Linked DNA regions of Homo sapiens: region 2 is linked to region 1. The links are contacts of gene promoters, found by promoter capture Hi-C in blood cells and fetal thymus (Javierre and others, 2016). All regions are on one chromosome and are shown on one strand. The core of a region is centred on a gene start or on the middle of the fragment in contact, and the rest is flanking DNA. Distances in the headings are between cores, read along the strand shown. Region 1 holds the start of SUSD5 (sushi domain containing 5). Region 2 overlaps FBXL2 (F-box and leucine rich repeat protein 2).

The links. Contacts are between HindIII fragments. The CHiCAGO score rates a contact against its expected background, and 5 or more counts as called.
Region 2: a contact is called between a fragment that was not itself captured here and the fragment with the promoter of SUSD5 in region 1, in 3 of 17 cell types (endothelial precursors, M2 macrophages and M1 macrophages). The highest score is 8.7, in endothelial precursors.

The regions. Positions count from the first base shown.
Region 1 is chr3:33,215,538-33,222,838 of GRCh38, forward strand. SUSD5 (sushi domain containing 5) reads right to left here and starts at 3,273. Exons shown (of 5, transcript NM_015551.2): 1 at 3,149-3,273. The coding sequence starts at 3,260. The HindIII fragment of the contact is 11,893 bases long and covers 2,325-7,301 here.
Region 2 is chr3:33,352,599-33,360,160 of GRCh38, forward strand. FBXL2 (F-box and leucine rich repeat protein 2) reads left to right here. Exons shown (of 15, transcript NM_012157.5): 3 at 6,369-6,423; 4 at 6,685-6,759. Among named protein-coding and RNA genes, the nearest start is that of FBXL2, 79 kb to the left of the region's middle. The HindIII fragment of the contact is 2,983 bases long and covers 2,999-5,981 here.

The sequences.
Region 1 (7,301 bases), core at 2,023-4,522:
TTAATTCTTATGACAACTCTATGATATAGGTGGTATTATCATCCTCATTTTATAGTTAAGGTTTAGTATTAATGCTTGTCCGAGATCACACAGCAGAGATACAGAACCAGGCAGTATGGCTCCGTTAGTGATTTTAATCACTTGGTTATACTGCCTCTCAATAACAAAGCAATAACTAGGAAAATCCCCTTGTGCATGGAAATTACAAAATATACTTCTAAATAAACTGTGTTCAAAGAAGAAATCCCAACTGAAATAAAACATGTCAACTCAAGGGCCAAAAACTTATGGAGAAACTAAAGTAGTTTAAGAGAAATTTATAGCCTCAGATCTCACATTATTAATACCAAAAAAGTATGGTTGAGAATCAATGATCTAAGTTTCTAGCTCAAAAAACAAACACAAAAGTCCCACAAAATCAAATCTTCTAACGTAGAAGGAGGAAATAATACAGATAGAGCAGAAATCAGTAAAACGGAAAGCAGACACACAATCAAGAAAATAAAGCCAAAAGTTGCTTTTTTCAAATGAATAATAAAACGGATAAACCCCTACTAAGACTGATCAAGACAAAAAAAGAGAAAACACAAAGTACCAATATCAAGAATGAAAGGGAACATCACTACAGATCCCGTGGACCCTGAAATGATAATTAGAGATTATTACATTGTATATGCCACATTAGACAATCTAAATGAAGTGGGGGAAAAACTTTAAAAAATAAAACTTAGCAACATTGACACAAAATTAATTTTAAAATCTGAATACTTCTTTATCTACCAAACAAATTAAATTCATTATTTAAAATCTTCCTACAAGAAAACCTTCAGACACAGATGATCTCACACCAAAACAAACAAACAAAAGCCCTCACCCGCAGAAACCCTTTCAGAGTTAAAGAAGGAGCAACTTTACAATTTGGTTTAGGAACCATCATACGTTTGATATCAACACTTGGCAAAGATATTATAAAAAATGAAAATTACAGGCTAATATGTTTCATAAACATAGATTCAATAATCCCAAACCAGCTTCCCTCACTCCAGGCTCAGTTCTAGGTCTTCTTGCTGTAAAATTTTTCCTTAGGATTCTGCCCACGCACATGATTTCAAAGACCATCCTTATACAGATGACACGTTTTTAGAAATAGTTTCTCTCCAAATCTATCTCTTCAAACATCTGTAATTCATCATACTTAAGCTGAGCATTTCTTCTTCTTCCTCCCGTCACCATAGCACACAAATAACTAAATGTAGGAACTGGTGGCAGCTAAGAATTTAGTACCAAAAAGAATCCTTTGATAATATAGCTTATAACTCTTCCTGGTTCTAGTATAAAAGTTGGAGCTCATAAAATTGAGTTTACTATAAGGAAGTATACCTATAATTGTCCACTGAGGAAGTGGGGAAAGAAAAGGAAGGAGAATGAAGAAAAGGAATCATTTCTGGCAAGCAGTAACAAAGAATCATGTGCTCTGGTGTTGTCCTTACTTTCTCTTTGACCAGTGACATTTCTGCCTTTAATTTTCTATGACCCGTATCAAGCTAGACAGGCACAAAATATTGATCCTTATCCACATGGCATTCCACTTAAACAGTTATAATGGGATGAAACTCTAAAACCTTATGGATTGCAAAAATATTTATTTAAAAGGAATTAAAGTTGGCACAATATATCTTGTTCAAAGATTAATATTAGCTCCAATTTATTCTACTTGCATTCTTTAAAATCAGCTTAATTTTCATGGCTCAATGTCAGTCAAAAAACACTACAGTGAAGAATTATCAGTAAACTGCTAATAGGTATGGGATTCTTTTGAGGAGTGATGGAAATGTTCTGGAATTAGATGCATGCAAACCATGGTTTTCACAACCTAATGAATATACTAAAACCCACTTAACTGTATATTTTAAAATGACAAATTTTATGTGAAATACATGTCAATTAAAAAAATTAGCAGTGGTTACTAACAGCCTTCAAAGTTAAAAATGTTTTGTCTCTAACACTCTCTCTGAGGATATGGAGAAATACGACATTCATCCTTAATTAGGAACGGAGAGCTTTTCAAGCCTGCACTTAAAACAGAGAGCACTAAAAACTCTACGACCTAGACGGTTTTTTCCTTGGCTTTCCCCTTTTCCTGACAACCATGCTTTTTTTTTTTTTCCCCATGTCTTCTAGTTTCACTCAATATCGTTGGCTAAACAAGAATCACATTTTAAAATATACAACGCATCCTAAATTGACGGAGGGCTTTTCTCTTTTATCAGTCTAATTCGTCCTAAGCTAGAACTACCTCATGGGTGTGAGAACTGCTGGCTTTAAGCTTGCTTCCTTCAGATGCTCCTGTACCAAGTCAGCGGGATTTTGTTCTAATATGAAAACACAGCTGAATTAGCTTTTCAAAAGGGAATGGATACAGAGCTCCAATCCTGCTCATTTTAGGGCAAGTATTACAAGCTAAATTCAGGCTGAAAAACCAAGCAAACGAACAAGAAGTGGATCAATTCTCAGAGAACCTGCCATAATCTGGCCCTTGCCCACTTCTCTACCTCATGTCTCAAGACGTCCCCTCGCCTCCAGGTACTTTGCTTTATCATTTGTCCCGTTTTTCCTGTCACTCAGAGACAGCCTTTGCACGTGCTTTTCCCTCTGGCCAGGCCATTCTCTCTCTCTTAGCCTCGCTGATTCCCACTCATCTTTCACGTCTTCCCGGACCAAGCCAAAATATCCGAGGGAGTTTTCTAACCATCGGCGGTGTCCTCAGGGGCACATTAATAGACGTTGAGAAACTGAGGGACGGCGGAAAATCACCCCTTAGCAGAGGAGGTTCTAGGGCACCTTAGAGGTGATTTCATTCGAGCTTTCTTGGAGACCTTAGGAAAGCCAGCGGCGGGACTGCGGGACCTACGCGCTCGGCGCTAAGGGAGGGTCCAGGCACCAGGCGGGCGTTTGGGCGCACGGGCACGCGGAGACTTGGTGGGCCAGGAGAGGGATGCTGGGTCGCAGGACCGCGGCTCGTTCGTTCCTCTCAGGCTTGCGCTTGCCGCTTGCCGGGCCGGTCAGAGGGAGCAGCCCCGGCGAGCTACGCCCTCCCTGCCCGGACCCCACGCTCCACCCCCCGCCCCGCCGCCTCCCGCACACTCACCATCCGCCCGCACCGAAAGGCGCGGCAGACCGAGCAGGAGCAGCGCCGCCGCCCAGAGCCCGGGGAGGCGTCTGTGCCAACGGGCAGGCGGGCTGGGTCCCTCGGCAGTCATGGTCCGGGAGTGCGCGGGCCAGCGGACTCGGGTGAGGGCTCTGGCTGCGTTTGGGGTTGCCCAGGCCACTGCCCAGCGTGCGCCACTCGGCTCTGCGCTCTGCGCTCGGCTCACGAATCGCAGGCTTCGCGCCGGGCGCGCCGAGAGGGAGGAGCGCGGAGAGCCGGGGGAGGCTCGGGACGCAGAGCCGGAGCGCCTGGGCCGCCGAACTCCCGGGGGTCTTCTCTGTGGCGCCGAGGAGGCGGCTGTAACCCGGCTCCGCCTTCGCGCTGGGCACCTGGAAACCTCGGTGCCAAAAGGGGCTGCGCTGGGCCGCGCGCTCTGCGGGTACAGCGGGGCGGAGGGCGAGGGCGCAGGGAGGCGGGGAGAGTAGCTAGCCGGCCGCAAGGAGCCCCCGCCCGTCTGGGGGACCCTTGGCGAGAGGGTGACGCAGTCTGACAGGCGGAGCCCCTCCGGCAGGGCCGTTAGACAACGAGTGTCTAACTCTGTCCTCGGCCTCTACTTTTCAACTGGCCTCCTCCCCCTCCCCACCAACACTCTTTTTTTTTTTTTTTTTTAATGAAGAGAGGAAAATCTAAGTTACCTACCACCCTCACTCTAAGGTGTGAAACGCATGGAATAGCGAAATTCCTCTTTCCTAAAAGCGAAGTTTGAGAGTCACTGAGGAAAGGATATCTTCAGGAACGCTTCCTTCACCACTTTTCCTGGTACGCTAGTATTTCTCAAGGAGCAGTAAGAGGGCTAGTGAGATTGTCACCATTATCACCCACCTCCCAAATCAGGGCTTTTTGACCTCGAAAGGGTCTGAGATTCGGACTCTGTCGGTCTGGTCTGGGAATCTACACTCTAAGTTAAAGTGTCCCAATGGATTCTGCTGCAGGGGTCCCTGTTTGACTTGATTCCTTCTTCCTGCTCGCCCCTAGCCTGTCTCCCTACCACCAGCCCTGTTCAGTGAAAGAAGAACTTGCTTTCTTCATAGGTAGAGTAATAAAGATCAGTATTGTTATAACTGAGGCATGCGCGGTGCTCTACAATTTGCAAATCCCTTTTATATTGATGTATGGGTCAACAAACATCTATTGAGTGCCCATACATGCCTGTCCCTGTGCTAGACCCTGAATGTGGCTGCAATCGGTCCTAAAAATGTTCACACTTAAATAAAATATACTTACAATTGAAAAAGTGATTGGTGCTAAAGGGGCAGATGATTATCCTCATTTAATGAACCAGGACACAGACATTGAAATAATTTACTTTCTTTTCACAGTAAGAACTTGGATTTGAATCCACATCTGATTTACTACAGGTGTCATTTTTCAGCTTGCATTAATTGTTGAAATGTACTGAAAAGATTTCTTCTCTCCTTATTACTTCCCATCAACTACAAGGGCTACTATTAATGAGTAATTATTTTGGATAATTAAACTTTGCTTTCAAAATACAAATACTGGCCGGACACGGTTGCCCAGGCCTGTAATCCAAGCACTTTGGGAGGCGGAGGCCGACCAATCACCTGAGATCAGGAGTTGGAGACCAGCCTGGCCAACATGGTGAAATTTCCATCTTTACAAAAATACAAAAATTAGCCGGGCGTGGTAGCTGTTAATGCAGTGAGGTGTTAAATGCAGTGAGGCCTGACAAGTATAAATGAATTTACTTAGCTCCTTCCCTTTTTTTTTTTTTTTTTTTTTTTTTTGAGATAGAGTCTCGCTCTGTTGCCAGGCTGGAGTACCGTGGAGCGATCTTGACTCACTGTAACCTCAGCCTCCCAGGTTCAAGCGATTCTCCTGCCTCAGCCTCCCGAGTAGTTGGGACTACAGGCGTGCACCACCACGCCCAGCTAATTTTTGTATTTTTAGTAGAGACGGGGTTTCACCATGTTGGCCAGATGGTCTCGATCTCTTAACCTCGTGATCCGCCGGCCTCGGCCTCCCAAAGTGCTGGGATTACAGGCATGAGCCACCACACCCGGCCAGCTCCTTCCCTTTTAACAGTTAGCTGGTAACCTAAGGAGTGAGACTTCACATGTCTGGACTGGAGGGGTCATTTTAAAGCCTGGTTAGTGCTGAGAACGGAGGGGAGGGATCAGAAGGTACCTGCCAAGAGCTACCAACTCACTCACTCAGGAGCTTTGCCTAGGAACATTTTAAAAACAGTCAATTGAATATTACTACTTAATTCTCCTAACATTTTCAAGATTATGCTTATTCACAATTGTCTTGGCCTGTCCTGATGTGAGGAGATGGCATGCTGTAAGGGTAATTGGTATGGTTGCTTTAGAAAACCGGCTGTTCCATCTAAACATATACCTGCCTTAGGACCCAGAAATTCCTCTCCTAGGATTATATCCAAAAGAATGAGAACCTATATTCACAAAAATATTTGTGCACAACTGTTCATAGCAGCTTTATTTGCAATGATCAAAAACTAGAAGGAATTCGGATATCATCAACAGATGAATAGAAAAACAAACTGTCATATTCACACAATAGAATACTATTCGACAACAGGAATGAACTACTGAATGAACTACTCAACACGTGAAAGAATCTCAAGGATAGCATACAGAGTGAAAGAAGTCTTACACAAAACAATTCATACTGTGTAATTCCATTTATATGAAGTTCAAGACAGGACAAAACTAATCTGTGGTGAAAACAGTCAACACAGTGGTTGCCTTTGATAGAACGGGAACACAAGGGAACATCTGAAGTGATGAAAATGTTCTATTCCTGATGGGGATGGTGGTCACATGAGTGTATATGTTTGTCAAACATCCCTAAACTGTACACTTGAAATCTTTGTATTTAATTGAATACTTATACTTCAGTAACAAATACTTTAAAAATCAGAATTTCAGTCCTTGCACTAAAAAATAAAGAAGGTTTAATAGAAGGCCAAGTGCGGTGGCTCACGCCTCTAATCCCAGCACTTTGGGAAGTGGGTGGATCACGAGGTCAGGAGATTGAGACCATCTTGGCTAACACAGTGAAACCCCATCTCTACTAAAAATACAAAAAATTAGCCAGGCGTGGTGGCACGTGCCTGTAGTCGCAGTTACTTGGGAGGCTGAGGCAGGAGAATTGCTTGACCTTCGGAGGCGGACATTGCAGTGAGCCAAGATTGTGCCACTGCACTCCAACCTGGGCGACAGAGCAAGACTCTGTCTTTAAAAAAAAAAAAAAAAAGTTTAATAGAAGAGAGTTTGATGAAAGGACCACATGCAGTGATGTGGACAGGACCGAGAGAACCAATAAGGGGTGGTGAAACTCCTGGGTCTAGCAACAGCTGGAAGCTGTAGCCATGGTGAGGCCTGAAGGTGTGAGGGAAGGTTGAGGTGTTACCAAACCAGCAACAGCTGTGGCCATGAAAGAGGCCGCCTGAAAAAAAGGATACCCATAGGTAGAAAAATCAAGATGCTGCCACTGGTCTGGTAGGGAGGGAGTGAGGAAGAAAGACCCTGACCTCTCTCTCCTTCTATCCTTGATATTCCTCTTGATACCTTCTATTGGCTGAACCATTTAAAAGCTAAAGGGTAAAGAAGCACAGGTGCAGTGGTCCTTAGAAGTCACCTTGTTAGGGTGCAGGGTTGGACAAAGAAGGTTAAAGAGTGGATCTGGAATGGCAAATGGGAAACAACCAGCACAGCTCATCTACTTTTTTCTTTCATTTGATTAAGAATAACTAGAAATAAAACAGGAGAAACACAAAATCCTGTCAGTCCTCTCTTGTATGACCTGGGAATAATGTCAACTCAGTCAAATTTCCACTTGGAGCTAAACTGTGATATTAACCATCAGTGGTTACATTCACATAAATACAGTTTCACATAAACAGAAAAGGGGAGAAGTAAACAGTTGTCACAAAATATAGATTCTACTGTCCCCACTTCTGTAACTGGTCATGAGGCCTTATTTGACAATCATTCCAATGTTTCCCTCTACTCTCTGAGCATTTTGGCCTGCATGAATTTTTTTTTAACTGATGACAGGGGCCTAAAATTTCATTCCCGCCAAAGACTTATCTTTATTAGTTTGCCAG
Region 2 (7,562 bases), core at 3,240-5,739, 140 kb after region 1:
AGCAGTGAGAAAATCAGCTGGGCTCTGTGGCTCACGCCTGTAATCCCAACACTTTGGGAGGCCAAGGTGGGCAGATCACTTAAGGTCAGGAGTTCAAGACTAGCCTGGCCAAAATGGTAAAAATCCGTCTCTACTAAAAATACAAAAATTAGCTGGGTGTGGTAATGTGTGTCTGTAATCCCAGCTACTGAGGAGGCTGAGGCAGAGAATTGCTTGAATACGGGAGGCGGTGGTTGCAGTGAGCTGAGATCACACCACTGCACTCCAGCCTGGGCAACACAGTGAGACTCTGTCTCAAAACAAAACAAAACAAAACAAAACAAAACAAAAAAACCCATCTCAATAGTGAGAAATAACTCAATTTTTTAAATGGGCAAAAAATCTGAACAGATATTTTACCAAAGAAGATATGCAGATGACAAGCATAAGAAAAGATGCTTAATATGATATGTCACTAGAGAATTGAAAATTAAGACAATGAGATACCACTGTATACCTATTAGAATGGGTAAATCTCAAAAATCTAAATACAAAATGGTGGTAAGATGCAGAGCAACAGGAACACTTATTCACTGTTAGTGAGGATTCAAAATGGTACAGCCAGTTTAGAATACAGCTTGGCAGTTTCTTGCAAAGCTAACCATAAATGTATCATTTAGTCAAGCAGTCACATACCTAAGTATTTATCCAAATGAGTAGAAAATTTATATCCACACAAAAACCTACACACAAATGTTTATAGCAGAATTATTCATAATCACCCCAAACTAGAAGCAACTAAGATGTCCTGCAATAGGCGAATGGATAAACAAACTGGTATATTCACACAATGAGATATTTTTCAGCAATAAAACACCGTAAGTTATCATGCCATGAATAGACTTGGAGGAGCCATAAATGCATGTTGCTAAGTAAAAGAAGCCAGTCTGAACGGTTACGTAGTGTTTGATTCCAATCATATGGCATCTGGAAAACACAAAACTATAGCGACATTAGAAAGATCAGTGGGGCTGGGCACAGTGGCTCACGCCTGTAATCCCAGCACTTTGGGAGGCCAAGGCAGGAGAATTGCTTAAGGCCAGGAGTTCAAGACCAACCTGGACAACATAGACCCCATCTCTTCAAAAAATTTTTTTTTCTAATTAGTTGGGCATGGTGGTGTGGCTTTACTTTCCCCTGCTTGGGAGGCTGAGGCGGGATGATCGAGTGAGCCCAAGAGGTTGAGGCTGCAGTGAGCCATGATCATACCACCATACTCTAGCCTGGGTGACAGTATGAGACCATGTCTGGGAAGAAAAAAATCGGTAGTGGCCAAGGGTTCATGAGAAAGAGAGGAGGGATGAATAGGTGAAACATGTTGTTGACAGTAAACTATTCTATGTGATACTGTAATGGCAGCTACATGACATGCATTTGGCAAAACCTCTAGAACTAACTATATAATACAGAGTGAACTTTGTTGTAAACTATAGACCTTAGTTAATAATAATGTATCAATTTGGTTCATTAATTGTAACAAATGTACCACACTAATACAACATGTTAATGATAGGGGGAACTATGTGTGTCTGTTGGTGGGGGTGTATATAGTAACTCTCTATACTACTTGCTCTTATTTTAAATAAAAATTTTAGGCTGGGCCCAGTGGTTCACGCCTGTAATCCGAGCACTTTGGGAGGCCGAGGCGGGTGGATCACCTGAGGTCAGGAGTTCGAGACCAGCCTGACCAATATAGTGAAACCCCGTCTCTACTAAAAATACAAAAATTGGCCGGGTGTGGTGGTGGGCGCCTGTAATCCCAGCTACTCAGGAGGCTGAGACAGGAGAATTGCTTGAACCTGGAGGCAGAGGTTGCAGTGAGCCGAGATCACGCCACTACACTCCAGCCTGGGTGACAGAGTGAGACTCCATCTGGAAAAAAAAAAAATTAAAGGGGAGATAAACAAATGTGAAAGGTGTTAAAATTGTGCATGTGCCAAATGGAAATATTTTACAGTCTGTAACAAAGGAATTATAAAATAATTGAAAGGCAGGAAAAAAAAACCTATAGTAAACATCATAATTGAATAGTGGCAGCTTTTTCTCTGAGATGAGAATGAGACAAAGATGTATTTCATTATCGGTTGTATTTATCATTGTACTAGAGAAGATCATAGCCACTGTAATAAGCAAAAGAAATAGAAAGTATAATTATTGGAAAGGAGGAAAGTTAGTTCATTATTCACTGGTGAATTGATATTTTATGTGGAAAATCAGAATGAATGGACAAATTTAGAAATATTGTTGGGTACAGGGTCAGTATATGAAAATTAACATTATATACTGGCAGCAATTAAAGAATGACATTTAAAATATTCCTTTTTTTTGAGACAGGGTCTCCTTCTGTTGCCCAGGTTCATAGCTCACTGAAGGCTTGACCTCCCCGGGCTCTGTTAGTCCTACCATCTCCACCTCCTGAGTAGCTGGGACTATGGGCATGCGTCACCACACCTGGCTAATTACTGTATTTTTTGTAGCAATGGGGTTTCACCATGTTGCCCATGCTGGTCTCGAATTCCTGGGCTTGGGTGATCCTCCTCCCTTAGCCTTCCAAAGTGCTGGGATTATAGGCATGAGCCACCACTCGCTGCCAAAAAATATTCCATTTTAATAAGAACGTCAAATAACCAGGAAAAACAATCTAAAGATGAGCAAGGTATCTATCTGGAAAACTACAAAAATTACTGTGAAAAATTAAAGAAATCCTAAATAAATTTTGAAATGGATCATGTTTCTGGATTGGAAGATTTAATATTGTAAAAATCTCAATTATTCCCAAATTTTCTACAAATTCAGTGCAATCCCAGTAAAAATTTCAGAAAGTTTTCTTGTAGAAATTGATATGCTGATTCTGAAACTTAATAGGAAATTCCGAGGATCAAGAATAACTAAGATAATCTTGATGAAGAAGAACAAAGTTGAAGGACTTACGTTACCAGACATTGTGACTTATTATTAAAGCTTCATAATTAAAACAGCCTTAGTGGCACAAAGACAGACTAATGGAGCAGAATACAAAGTCCAAAAGTATATCCAATCCCTTACTCCCCTGTGATTATTTATAACCAGGGTGCTATTGCAGTGCTTGCCTTGTAAAGCTGAGGCTATCACATTTGAGATAAGGAAGCACTTTCTAGGAAAGAATGTTTTGAAGGAGTCAGAACTCAGTTTGCCACTCATGTCGCTATCTCCGTTTCTATTGACAGTATCCCAGGCTGTGTAATTCAGGGCATTACTTTTACTCGTCGAAACATGAGTCAGGAATTGGCTTTGGTGTCAGTGTGGTAGTTTGGAGTATTGCCACGCCTATTTGTGCAAATTCAACTACTTTCAGTTTAAAAGGTTGGGGAGAGATGGGAAATAATGTAAATACTTTAGGCAATCTATTTTTTCATTCAGTAATCATAAAACTAGGTATGAGATGAGATGAGAAATGTGAATTCCTGTTGCACCTGTTGGTTCCTATGTGTCTCAGCGTGTGAGCTCTTGCTTCACTTGTGAGTGAAGCATGAGTCCAGTTTGTTCCAAACAACATACTCACTAAACGAAAACTACTTCATTTATTATTATCAGTTAAGAAATAGCACTGTCGACCTAAATAAGGAAACTGAGGCAAAATTAATCTAGAGAGTTTATTTGGGGCAAGTTTGAGATTGCAGCTCAGGTAACACTGGGAAGTGATCCCGAGAATAAAGGAGTTGCTCGAGTTGGTTTGTTTTGTTTTGTTTTTTTGAGATGGAGTCTCGCTCTGTCGCCAGGCTGGAGTGCAGTGGCGGATCTCGGCTCACTGCAACCTCTGCCTCCTGGGTTCAAGCGATTCTCCTGCCTCAGCCTCCTAAGTAACTGGGACTACAGGTGCACACCACCACGCCCAGCTAATTTTTATATTTTTAGTAGAGATGGGGTTTCACTGTGTTGACCAGGTTGATCTCAATCTCTTGACCTTGTGGTCCACCCGCCTCAGCCTCCCAAAGTGCTGAGATTACAGGTGTGAGCCACTGTGCCCATCCTGCTCGAGTTTCTAAAGAAAAAAGGATGAATCAGGAGAGGGGCAATTACAAAAGTTGTTTTTGGGAACTCTTACGGGTTTCCAGAAGTAGCATTGATTAGTGATTGATCGTACATTGTTGAACTATGGGGTAGGAGTTAGAGTATCAAGCATATGGTATTGTTAGGTTACTTTATAGCTACTTGTGTCAGTCACTCTAGAGCCCACATAGCGGCTCACATCTCTTAGATTAAAAGTTTCTTTTCTTTCTCAGGATCTAGCCCAATCCTGAGGGAAAAGCAGCTGTGTTAAGCGTTCCAAAGCAGTATATGTAGTGGTCATGGCTTGTGCTCTTGAACCAGACTACCTGGGTTCAAATCCTAGTTCAGTGTGCCCTGGGCAGGTTACTTAACCTCTATGCTCAGTGTCCTTATCTGTAAAATGGAGATAGTAATAGCACAACACCTCATAGCAGTGAACTAGCATATAAACCATGGTTGGCACATAGTTGGTGCATAATCAATGTTAACTATTTTTGTTATTACCAGTATTGTTATTACTGAGACGTGATAAAGGTGGTATGCTCTTAAGGTATTTTCAAGGGAAACAGCTAACTCTTTTTTTACCTTTGGCTTATGCTTTTAGAACCCAATCCCTGCATGAAATATGATTCTACTGTACCAGGCTAGTTTCTCTGTTTGGTGTTTGTTTCTGTAGGGAGCTGATAATCAGATGTGGCTAGCTGTGGGATGGTCATATGTCACAGAACACAGCTATTAGGGGCAGGAGAGCCTTTGTGTTGGGCAAGGTAGATGTGTAGATATCCTAAAATATATTGAATATGTATGTTTAAGTACACATATTTTAGCCACCAGCATTTTTCTATGTACAAAGATCCACTGAGTCTTTTTTTTTTTTTTTTTTGAGACGGAGTCTCGCTGTCGCCCAGGTTGGAGTGCAGTGGCGCTATCTCGGCTCACTGCAGGCTCCGCCTCCCGGGTTCACGCCATTCTCCTGCCTCAGCCTTTTGAGTAGCTGGGACTACAGGTGCCCGCCACCTCGCCCGGCTAATTTTTTGTATTTTTAGTAGAGATGGGGTTTCACCGTGTTAGCCAGGATGGTCTCGATCTCCTGACCTCGTGATCCGCCCACCTCGGCCTCCCAAAGTGCTGGGATTACAGGCGTGAGCCACCGCGCCCAGCCAAGATCCACTGAATCTTTTAAAGTCAGTGTAGCCCTTATTATGCTTCTATCCTTTGCTTTTCACTAGAAAATGATTGTAGCCTATATTGTAGGATGGCATCTATGCAGTCAGTATCCCATGGTACTGCATGTGGGTGCATTATTGTAGGGTACAACACTTTCATGTTTTATGATTCTACTCTTCTTCCCTGAGTCCGTGGATTTTTATCTCACCACCGATTGTTGCCTTTGAAGAATTTTGAGGAACATTATAGGTGGCTGTTCGCCATCTTAACCACTCTCCCCCTTCCACACTCAGAGGCACAGACTCTCATATTTACTTTCCAGGACTCTGAAAACTGAGGCACTACTCTTGTTCCTGACTTCAACCCTGTCCACCCTTCTTCTCACAGAAAAGCTGCCCTTTGTTTTTAGCTGTCACTCTGCAGTGCTGAGGCGCACACGGCTGTTTGCTCACATACTATGAGCAGCAGCTCCTCTCCTTGACTGCCAGAATGTCGAGGCTTCACTCAGTCCCCTGCCATGCTGGCAGCTACTGCTTCCTCTAAGGCATTACTGATGCCAACCAAGATTTTGTTTGCTTCTGTCTGCTTTTCTTCCCCCCACCTCTTCCCGCCCCATCTTTCCTATGTTCTCTGGCTCCTTGGCTTTTGCTTAGGAAAAACTGATCACTTATAGACTTTGCCAACTAATGAGCTCCATCTTTCTGCCAGGCAAACAAATACTTCAAACCAAATGGGCTTTGTCATCAAGCTTTTTTTGACAGTGTTATTTGAGGCTCAGGCATCTGAGCCTGTTCAGTGCATCTACCACCAAAAGAGGGCTTATGCTAGAGAGTTGGTCTTCAAATAGAACCAGTTATGGTCTTTCCTGTGTCCATTACTTAGAACAAGGGAAATATAAGCTTAATGAGTTCTAAGGTAATTTGTATTGTGTGTCCAAAATAGCTTCTGAACATGCAAACACTTAATATTTCACTGTAGTGATGTAAAGTTATAGTGCACTTGTATATTTCAGATTGAGGAATCTTGAAAAAACTTATGTATCCAGGTGGCGGATTAGAGTTTATCTTTCAAGTTATAATTATCCTGAAATGTTAACACCATCTCGTTTTTGTGTTTTTTTCCTCTCTCTGTAGAATATTTTCCTTCTTGGATATAGTAACTTTGTGCCGATGTGCACAGATTTCCAAGGTAGAGTATTCACCAGATTTTTTAATCAATAAATATCAAGTTTTATTAGAATGAGTTTTAGTTCAAATTACTGAAAATTAAAATTTTATTATCTTTTATACTTAATATAACATAATGGTATAATTTTGCATTTGATGATTAACTTAATATACATCAAAAATAGGAGTTTGGAAATAAAGGTTAATCAAGACTTTCTTTAATAGTCTCAATAAATGTGTTTCTTTCATCCCAATCCCTCTTCCTTTACCTCCCACCTTCCAGGCTTGGAACATCTTAGCCCTGGATGGAAGCAACTGGCAAAGAATAGATCTTTTTAACTTTCAAACAGATGTAGAGGTAAGTTAGCTTTGGTTTAGACAAAAAACTTTTTAAAAATATGAGTAGCTGTTCCCCCTTTCCTGACTTTTTATTTTACTGCATTTAGATCTAATATTAAAGTGCTGAGGTAGAACAGAAAGAAGAAAAACTGGAAGGGATTTGCATACATCAAAACAAAACCCTGCTTGCATTTTAAATTGTATCAGTAACAGATTTTTTTCCCTTGTTTATGTTTATAGTCTGAATTTTACTACTCAGCTTTTTAAAGCCACACACCTGCATCATTATCACCTGGTTCAGTGCTTTAACCTTAGGAGACTTGACAAATACTTATTGATCTAGAAAATCCACCGAGAATTCTAATTCAGCATCAAAAGTGGAGAAATGGCAGAAGCAGAAGCCCAAGAGTGAGGCTGGAGATCTAAAGTGTCACCCTAGCTTGGCCACTTAAGTCATATAATCTCTCAGTATTCTGTTTTATTATCTATAAAATAAAGTAATAATTAAGTCTTATACAATTATTATATACAGAATATATAAGATTCTGATATATTTATCTGTAAATATGTAAATATCTCCATTTAAGTGTGGTAAACCTGATGAAATGAGGAAAGTTTATGTTAAAACAACTTTGATATTCAATACTAAATTTCTAACCAAAAAGAAAGTTTAGGCAGGGAATAAAAAAAGAGCATTGTACTTAGGAATTGTCTGAAGTGCTGGTTTGAGGGTCTTGAGATTCTGAAGTTTATTTTCTACCTAATATAAAACCTAATTGATTTCCAGTTTAGCAAACTTACAGTAGTGGAAATGCATTTTAA